Linked DNA regions of Homo sapiens: all the other regions are linked to region 2. The links are contacts of gene promoters, found by promoter capture Hi-C in blood cells and fetal thymus (Javierre and others, 2016). All regions are on one chromosome and are shown on one strand. Each heading gives the region's core, a stretch centred on a gene start or on the middle of the fragment in contact. The rest is flanking DNA. Distances are from core to core; before and after follow the strand shown. Region 1 has its middle 35 kb from the start of TRD-GTC2-8. Region 2 holds the start of CDK17 (cyclin dependent kinase 17). Region 3 has its middle 29 kb from the start of LINC02452.

Region 1 (2,713 bases), core at 79-2,578, 330 kb before region 2:
AGCCCCCACAACAAAGAGAACCATCCAGTCCAAAATGTCAATGGTGCTGAGGTTGAGAACCCTGACCTAAACCAGTCCTGGTGGTCTCATTCCCTAGCTGTTAGTGGTTTAGATCCCATGATGTTAAGTAATTCTGACCAATGAGACGTGAGCAGAAATTGACAAGAGGAGTATGGCAGAGAATGTTAATTTCTCCCTACATTCACTTTACCTTTCTTTTCAGCAGAAGTTACATTCAGTGTTAGCTAGGCGCATGCCCAATTACAGACTATAATTCCCAGCCTCCATCGTTGCAAGGTGTGGCCAAGTTTTGGCTAATGGGATGTGAGAAAAAAATAATGAGTCTAATTTCTAGACCATGTTTTTAAGAAGGAGAATGCTTGTTCTTTACTTTCTCTCTTAATCCCTTTCTGCACACTGGGTGGTACTGCTAATCCAGCTTCAAGCAAGCACATGACTCCAGAGAATGGCAGAGCAAGACAGAAAGACTTACATACATTGGGACTGATACATGAAAAGAAAATAAATTGCTTTCTTCTTTGAACCATCGTATTTTTTAGTTTTTTTGTTTTAGCAGTTTAAGCTGTATGTATATGAGGTACTCCTGGGGAAGGTTTTTTCCTCTGTGATCACACACACACATACACACACACACACACACACACACACGGAGGGAATATTCATCTAAAGGATGTTGTAGGATTTGTGTGAGATGGCTGGAACCATGGCTGCTATCTTGTGACCATGAGGGGAGGTACCTGGTGGTTCAAAACTGCCCTGCTAAGTGAGAACGGAATAGGAAGGTTGTAAACAGCCCAAATCTTTCTTAACCTTGTTAAGCCATTGAGTTGACGAACTTTGCATCTGTCCTGTCTCAGGACTTCTTGTTAAGCAAGATGGTATATTTTTCATATCGTTTAAATATTTGGCCTTTAAATTTTCAGTAATAGTCCTTACAGTGATGGCTTTCAGACAGAAAATTAAAAATTTTAAAAAGTGCTATCCTAACTGATTCTCTCAATGTATTCAAGTGTAAAGAAATTACATGTCTAACCTCTCATGGAATTAGAGGGAAAAAATTTCATGTTATTTTAAGTATGTTCAGTTCTTTTATTAACTCATATTGGTTTCCCCCCTACTCCTTACCCTTGCAACCAAGATAATTTGCATCTAAGAGGTTTTATTCTGTTTCCACTGATATGTTTAGAAATTACTATATCTGAGGTGGGTATATTGGGAAAACATACACTACCACTCCTTTGCAGAAATGAGGGCTTATTGCAGCAGCTACTCGCCCTTGCAATGCTTCCTGCTTGGAAACTCGAAGGACTACATTGAGCAGGTGGAATAAAGTTGAATCGAAGGTTCAACTTACAAGCAGTCAGGAGGAGGTCTGCCCTGAAGCACTGTGCAGACTGGGACCTGCAGCAGGGCTGGGAGGGGGAGTGTCGAGGAAATGCCTTTTGCATGTCAATGGAGCCCCGTTGCTGTTCTGTGCTGCACAGCCACATGAGGTCATCCCAGATTAGAGGGTGCCCATGTCCAGGATCTTAAACCAATTACTTCCATCTCCATTGCTTCCTCTAAAGCCTCACTCTTAGTTCTACACAGTAATACTGCCTGGAAACTCCCCAAGGCCACCAAGCTCATACTAACAGGTTTGTGATGTGGGCAAACTCCTTACATGATCTCAAAATGAAAGAAGAGGCTGTTCACTGGAGGCAATAGCAAATCCCCTTTGTTCCTCTCTTGGCAGATGAGGGCCTTCGCTCTCTCCCTAAGGGTTCCGCCTGTCACCATCTGTGCACCCACTGTGGAAGGGCCAGCGCTAAGGTGAATTTCCATTTACTTCCTGCCAGCAGATGGCTCCTCCTTTTGGTCTCATCTTGAATTGTTTGCCAGACCAGCCAATTAGTCTCCTCACCCTTCCTGAAGCGTCCCAGGGAAGCAATATCATCACCAGCAGCCTATCATTATACCACGTCTTCTAAGCACCGTGATTCTAAATGCCTGCCGTGGAACAGAAGCTCATTCGCACATGGCTCTTTAACCCTTCCTTGAAAGACCTCAATTCAACATTCTCTCTCTCGCTCACACACACACACACACACACACAAATGCACACTCACACACAGTACCTACAACCTGATCCAAGATAGGAAACAAAATGACAGTATGCGGCATTCAATAATAAATTTAAAAATAAGACATAATTTCAGACAGAATGCAGAAGGAAAAACACAGTAACTATATTTTCTGATCCCCACTGAGGACACAATAAAAACTTTTTTTTAGGCCAGGCACGGTGGCTCACGTGTGTAACCCCAGCACTGTGGGAGGCCGAGGCGGGCGGATCACGAGGTCAGGAGGTTGAGACCATCCTGACTAACATGGTGAAACCCTGTCTCTACTAAAAATACAAAAATTAGCCTGACGTAGTGGCGTGTGCCTGTAATCCCAGCTACTTGGGAGGCTGAGGCAGGAGAATCTCTTGAACCAGGGAGTTAGAGGTTGAAATGAGCCGAGATCGCACCACTGCACTCCAGCCTGGCGACAGAGCAAGACTCCATCACAAAAAAAATAATGATACAAAAAAATTAATTAAATAAATAAAAATTAAAAATAAAAAAAAGTGGAGGGTTTTTTTTTTTTTTTTTTTTTGACAGAGTCTTGCTCTGTCGCCAGGCTGGAGTGCAGTGGCGCAATCTCGGCT
Region 2 (2,700 bases), core at 158-2,657:
CAAGCTCAGACATCCTGTCATTAACAAATGTTCCCCAAGCTGAAAGCAAAATACTGCTTACCCGAAAAGGAGTGGGTGAAAAGTAGGGGGAGAACGAGGGAAAAACCACAGGAGAGTCAATGTGGCAGTGTGGGGGTGACAGGAGGGAGGGAATCTGGAGCTATCCAGCTGAGTTGGGGAGCAAAAGCATCGGGCATAGCATCGGGCACAAAAATGCTGAGAAAAGCAACTGCGACGGAGACAGCACTAGGCACCCTCCTCCCCCCATTTTCCCCTCCCCATCGGTTTGCTGGGTTTCCCACCTTCCCTCTACCTCCGCTCTTGACCAACACTCCGGGGTGTGACCCGCCAGCAGGAGGCTGCCCTGATCTTTGTCTCTACCCGCTCCCACGCGCGGGCTCCTCCTCCTCCTCCGCGCTCCCCACCCGCGCACAGCGCCAGCGTCTCCAAGGAGCTGCAGGCGCCGCGACCGCCGCCTCCTCGCCCACCTCCCGCGGACCCGCGCCCCTTCCTTCCCCTCCCGGGCAGCGTCGCCTGCGCCTCCAGCTCCACCCCCGCCGAGGGGACCTTTGTGTCTCGGGGGACTTTCTGCCTCTTTCCCCTCCTCCGCCTCGCGAGGAGACCGGCCTCCCCCGCAGACCAAAGCGGCAGCGAGCACCGGAGGCGGCGGCGTCTATATCTGTCGGCGCCTCCTGGGAAGCAGCTCGCAGACACTCACACCCCACCCGAGCCCCGGAAATCCCCGGGCGACCCAAGGTCCTCGCTGGACCGGAGAGGTGACAGGCGCACGCTAGCCCCCCGCGCCGCGCCTCCTCGCTCAACTTCCCGACCGGGCCTGAGCCACCCGCGCCCCCAGTAGCCCCCGCCCCCGCCTCTGTCCCACGCAGCCTCCCGGCCCCGCGGCCGACCCGACACCAGGGGAAAGCGCGGCGCGGACGCCAGCCGCCAACTCACCAGCAAGAGCGGGGACCGCGGGTCCCGAGGCGAGGCGAAGAGAGGCGCGGGGGGAAGCTGCTCCGCGGACGCCCGCGGCGACCGGATGCAAGTCCGGGTCTCAGCGGCCGGCAGACGTGAGGCGCTTCCGAGCGCAGGCCTCCGCCGCCACAGCCGCCTTCCGGCTCTCGCCGCGGGTCCGGAGCCTCGGGAGGGGCCGCGGGTGTCTCACGCGTTGCCAAGTCCCTCGGTCAACATGGCTCCCGCGCCGACGAGCCGCGCGGACGGCCCACTAATCCCCTCGGAGCAGCCGGGCGCGAGCGCGGCGGGCGCCGACGGCGGGCTGAGACTGTCTGGCCGGGCGCTGGCTCCTTCTCCGCGGCTCTGCGGCGGCCCGCGGGGAGCTCAGGAGACTGCGGGCGGCCGCGTTCGCTCCTTGCGTGTGCGTCGCTTTCACACTCGGCGGCTGCGGATTGACGCCTCCGCCTGTTCCCCGGAGGAGAGCGAGTGCAAGAGAAAAAACACTTTTATTGAAACGATCCAACCAGCGGCGGCGGAGAAAAGCGACCGGCCGCGGGAGCTTACCCCACCCCCGCCTGAGCGGCTCGCCGGGGGCAGCGCGACCCCTGCCGGCGGCGGCGGAGGCGGGGGCGGGGCCGGCGGCCGGGGGCGGGGCCTGCAGGGCGGGGCGGGTGTCCCCGGGAAACTGCCCGCTCCGAAATGCGGGCGTCGGGGGAGCGGCGGAGGGGGCCAGGGGACCCCACCGGAATGAGTGCCTGTCCGCAGCGACTGGGGGAGAAATTATGTGAATAATTCAGCCCCTCCAACATCCCCCTGCCCCTCAACTTCCCGCTACCAAACCAAAACTCGTGCTTCAGTTATACAAGTAATTACTGTACAAGGTGTCCATGCCACAGTTCTCCACTGACTTTCTAGAGAGTCCATGTCAAAGGACCCACACTGAAAGATGTTGATGGCTGCAACTTTTCTCCTTTGTTGTGTGTGGGTACGTGGGTACTAGTGCCGCAGTCTCTCACACACACGGCATCTATTCATTTAAACTACAGTACAGTGTTTTGTATATATTATCATGTGCCCGGCAATATGCTGAGTCCTCTAAGGACGGAGAGTCTAGCTGGGATGAAAGATGATCAATAACTATCATAAAAATCTGAACGTTATGAGCGGAGAAATACAAGGTGCTATGAAAACAGAAAGGACTACTGTTGCACGGGTTAGGTTTTGTTTTCTTGGGGGAGGCGGGCCGCGAGAGGTTGGCCCAGTTTCTGCAACTGTTTTTACTTTCTCCTTTCCCAGAGGCTAAAAGCTAGTTCAGGAATGAACAGCAGAGTGGCAGTGAAGACAAACTAAAGTAATACTGACCCACTTTTTTCCACTAATAAGGATAAAAGCATAAAGTTAAAACAAACTTAAACCCCTAGAGGGAGATAATGAGAGGATTGAAAGAAGAGAGTAGGGACCGGATGTAGACAACATAAACAAGAAAAAAAAACCCACATAAAAGTCCTGTGAAGTGAGATAAATTTTTTTTCCCATGTTAACACCCGGAAGTAGAAGCTGCTTTGAAGTTTCAAATCACATTATGTGCTAAGAACTTCGGGGAATTATCTTTTTGGATTTAGGGATGAATCCTTTCCCCCTTAAAAATGCTGCATGCTGACATCTTTCTCTTATTTTGTTTGGCAAAGTTAAATGCATCTACAGTTATATCCAACGATCGTACGTGTCAATCAGGCTTTTCCCATG
Region 3 (2,846 bases), core at 256-2,755, 260 kb before region 2:
CCGAGTCTAGGCAGTATGAGTCAGTTCTCCCAGGGTCTGAGGTCATCCCTGGATGAGATAACAGCTCCGGACAGACAGAACTGGGAGGTCAGTTAGTACCGGGGAAATGCACCAAGGTTCCACAGCCCATGGAGTCTGGCTTGGTGAGTTTGCACATCTTATGCATCCTCCTTTAATGCTGGAGGGTAATCCTGAAGTCATCTAAGCCTCATGGTATTAATGAGGAAAGCTAGGCCTGAAGAAGTGAGGTGACCCACAGGACTGACCACAGCTCACACAGTTAGTATTTGGGATCCTTTGTAGGACCCAGATTGACAACTCAGGGTAGCCATGCCTCTGCATTTACCCGGTCAAGAACCAGTGTGTTTTCATTTTGGGGCCCTGGCAATAAACTCCAGCTACTACAAGCATGGGACAAAACATTAAGACAAACCAAACCATTTTTTTTATTCAATGCATGGTGGCCAAGGATCTAGCATATGATGGGAGATGGGGCTCGAAAAGTAAATTTGAACCAGGTGGTGAAAGGCCTTGAATGTCTTGTTGTAGGACGTGGACTTGCCCTTAGGAGCTAGGAACCTTGAAGATTTTTAAGCAAGGGAAATGATGCGATCATATCTGTGTTTTAGAGAACCAAATCTGATGGGAAAGGGGAGGAGCAGAAGGTGCCAAAGCAGGATTAGAATGTATATAAACAGTTCAGGTGAGGATGATGAAGGCTTGAACTAGGGCAATGGAAGGAGAGAGGAAGGAAAACATTTAAAAAACACTGCAGGCCGGTCACAGTGGCTCACGCCTGTAATCCCAGCACTTTGGGAGGCTGAGGTAGGCAGATTACAGGTTCAGGAGTTCGAGACCAGCCTGACCAACATGGTGAAACCCCATCCCTACTAAAAATAAAAAAAATTAGCCGTGTGTGGTGGTGTGCACCTGTAATCCCAGCTACTCAGGAGGCTGAGGCAGGAGAATTGCTTAAAGCCTGGAGGCAGAGGTTGCAGTGAGCTGAGATCACGCCACTGCACTCCAGCCTGAGCAACAGAGCGAGACTCTATCTCAAAAAAACACAAAGAAACAAAACAAAACACTCCAGTTCGGGCACAGTGGTGCACGTCTGTAGTCCCAGCTACTGGGGAGGCTGAGGCAGAAGGATGTGCGTTCAAGCCCAGCCTGGGCAAAATAGGGAGACTTTTGACTTCAAAAAACATTCAAGTTAAAAAAATAAAAAGACACTGTAGTAATATCAATCAATAGGCCTTGGGGAAGGAGAAGAGAGAGGGATCTAGTCTGGCTCTACCAAGTAGATGAGGCAAAGGAGGACCAAAGAAGTCGTAGCGGGAGTAAGAGGAATCTGGACAGGCTGACGGATTTAGTTTTAGCCTAGTTTAGTCCCAGTTGTCAGTGGAGCATTCACTGAGATGTGTAACTCCTGGACCTACTGTACAATTTGTAAAGCAGCCTCTGATACTACACACAGGGAGGAGGGGCTGTTTCTCAAAACCCTGTTAAGAATAAATGGTAGAAATTAAGGAAATGGGATAAAAGTGGTTTCAATAAAGAGGAAATTGGGCTGGGTGTGGTGGCTCACACCTGTAATTCCAGTGCTTTGGGAAGCCAAAATGGGAGGATCGCTTGAGGCCAGAAGTATGAGACCAGCCTGGGCAACATAGGGAGACTTTCTCTCTACAAAAAAAAAGTGAAAAATTAGGTGGGCATGGTGACTGAAATGGGACGATCGCTTGAACCCAGAAGTCAAAGCTGCAGTGCACTATGATCATGCCACCGGACTACAGCCTGGGTGATAGAGCAAGACTTCGTCTGTAACATAAATAAATAAAGAGAAATTGATTGGGGGATAACTAGGGCAGAGCAGAAAGAGGAAGGATGCACCAAGGACCGCAGGGGAGAACAGGTCAAAGCAAGTCAGAGACAGACAAGAGGCAGGAGTAACCAAACAGGAAGGAAGAACAAAGGCAAGAAAATGGGGAGGGAGAGACCAGAGTGGGAAAGGGCAGACTTGAGTGTTGAAAGTACATCTCTGTTGGGAGGGTACAACTCTTTTCAAGGTTTCTTTCCCCCACCTCTCTCTTGGAACTGCTTGCCTTCGTTATATCTGTGCAAAAGGGATGTATGCAAAGGAGCCTGCTGGATGGTGGTGGTGGGCTGTCTCCTGGCTCACTTGGAGTTTGTTCATCAATAGTCTTTAGGAAGACTGCTTCTGCCTTAAAAAAATGTTGGGAAAATGTGGAATGTGTATAAGAGGCACACATATCCAACCTCCCCCTGGTATTTTTCTTTATCATCTTCCTCCTCACCTTCCTTTCAGTTTCCCAAGTCAAAAGGGCAGAACTTCCTGTCTGAATTTTAAAGCCTCTGTTGCCTTGATTTTGTTCCTGACTCAATGGAGATGAATTCCGAGTTGAAGACAAACAATTGTGCCTTGTGAACAGTCGCCACGTCGAAAAGACTCAAGAGTACTTTTGCGGAAACCTGTCTCAGGAAAAATTCCCAGTGTGGGAGGGAAGGAGGGTGAACTCCATCCTGGAAGGAGGAATTCCAGTTGCTCTGAAAATGTAATTTTCTAAGTAAATTCATTAAAGTTGAAATGTCTAATAAGAAAGGGGAAGCAAAGTTGGTTGCAAAGGGAGAAATTGCATACTGCAAAGCCACAAATTCCTAAGCAGCAAAATTTCTTTCTTTTTTTAATTTTTTCCAGAGACTAGCTTGAGTGCAATGGTGCAATCATAGCTCACTGCAGCCTTGAACTCCTATACTCAAGTGATTCTCCCACCTCACCCTGCCTAGTAGCTGTGGCTATAGATGTGAGCCACCACACCCGGCTTAAAATT

Evidence for each region. Contacts are between HindIII fragments. The CHiCAGO score rates a contact against its expected background, and 5 or more counts as called.
Region 1: a contact is called between a fragment that was not itself captured here and the fragment with the promoter of CDK17 in region 2, in 17 of 17 cell types (activated CD4 T cells, naive CD4 T cells, naive CD8 T cells and 14 more). The highest score is 27.1, in activated CD4 T cells.
Region 3: a contact is called between a fragment that was not itself captured here and the fragment with the promoter of CDK17 in region 2, in 1 of 17 cell types (activated CD4 T cells). The highest score is 5.2, in activated CD4 T cells.

What each region holds. Positions count from the first base shown.
Region 1 is chr12:96,069,295-96,072,007 of GRCh38, forward strand. No RefSeq gene overlaps it. Among named protein-coding and RNA genes, the nearest start is that of TRD-GTC2-8, 35 kb to the left of the region's middle. RefSeq lists an enhancer at 1,963-2,463. The HindIII fragment of the contact is 5,233 bases long and covers 1-2,713 here.
Region 2 is chr12:96,399,032-96,401,731 of GRCh38, forward strand. CDK17 (cyclin dependent kinase 17) reads right to left here and starts at 1,408. Exons shown (of 17, transcript NM_002595.5): 1 at 955-1,408. RefSeq lists silencers at 812-971, 1,152-1,331, 1,422-1,751 and an enhancer at 2,172-2,391. The HindIII fragment of the contact is 3,343 bases long and covers 1-2,700 here.
Region 3 is chr12:96,141,671-96,144,516 of GRCh38, forward strand. No RefSeq gene overlaps it. Among named protein-coding and RNA genes, the nearest start is that of LINC02452, 29 kb to the right of the region's middle. The HindIII fragment of the contact is 6,494 bases long and covers 1-2,846 here.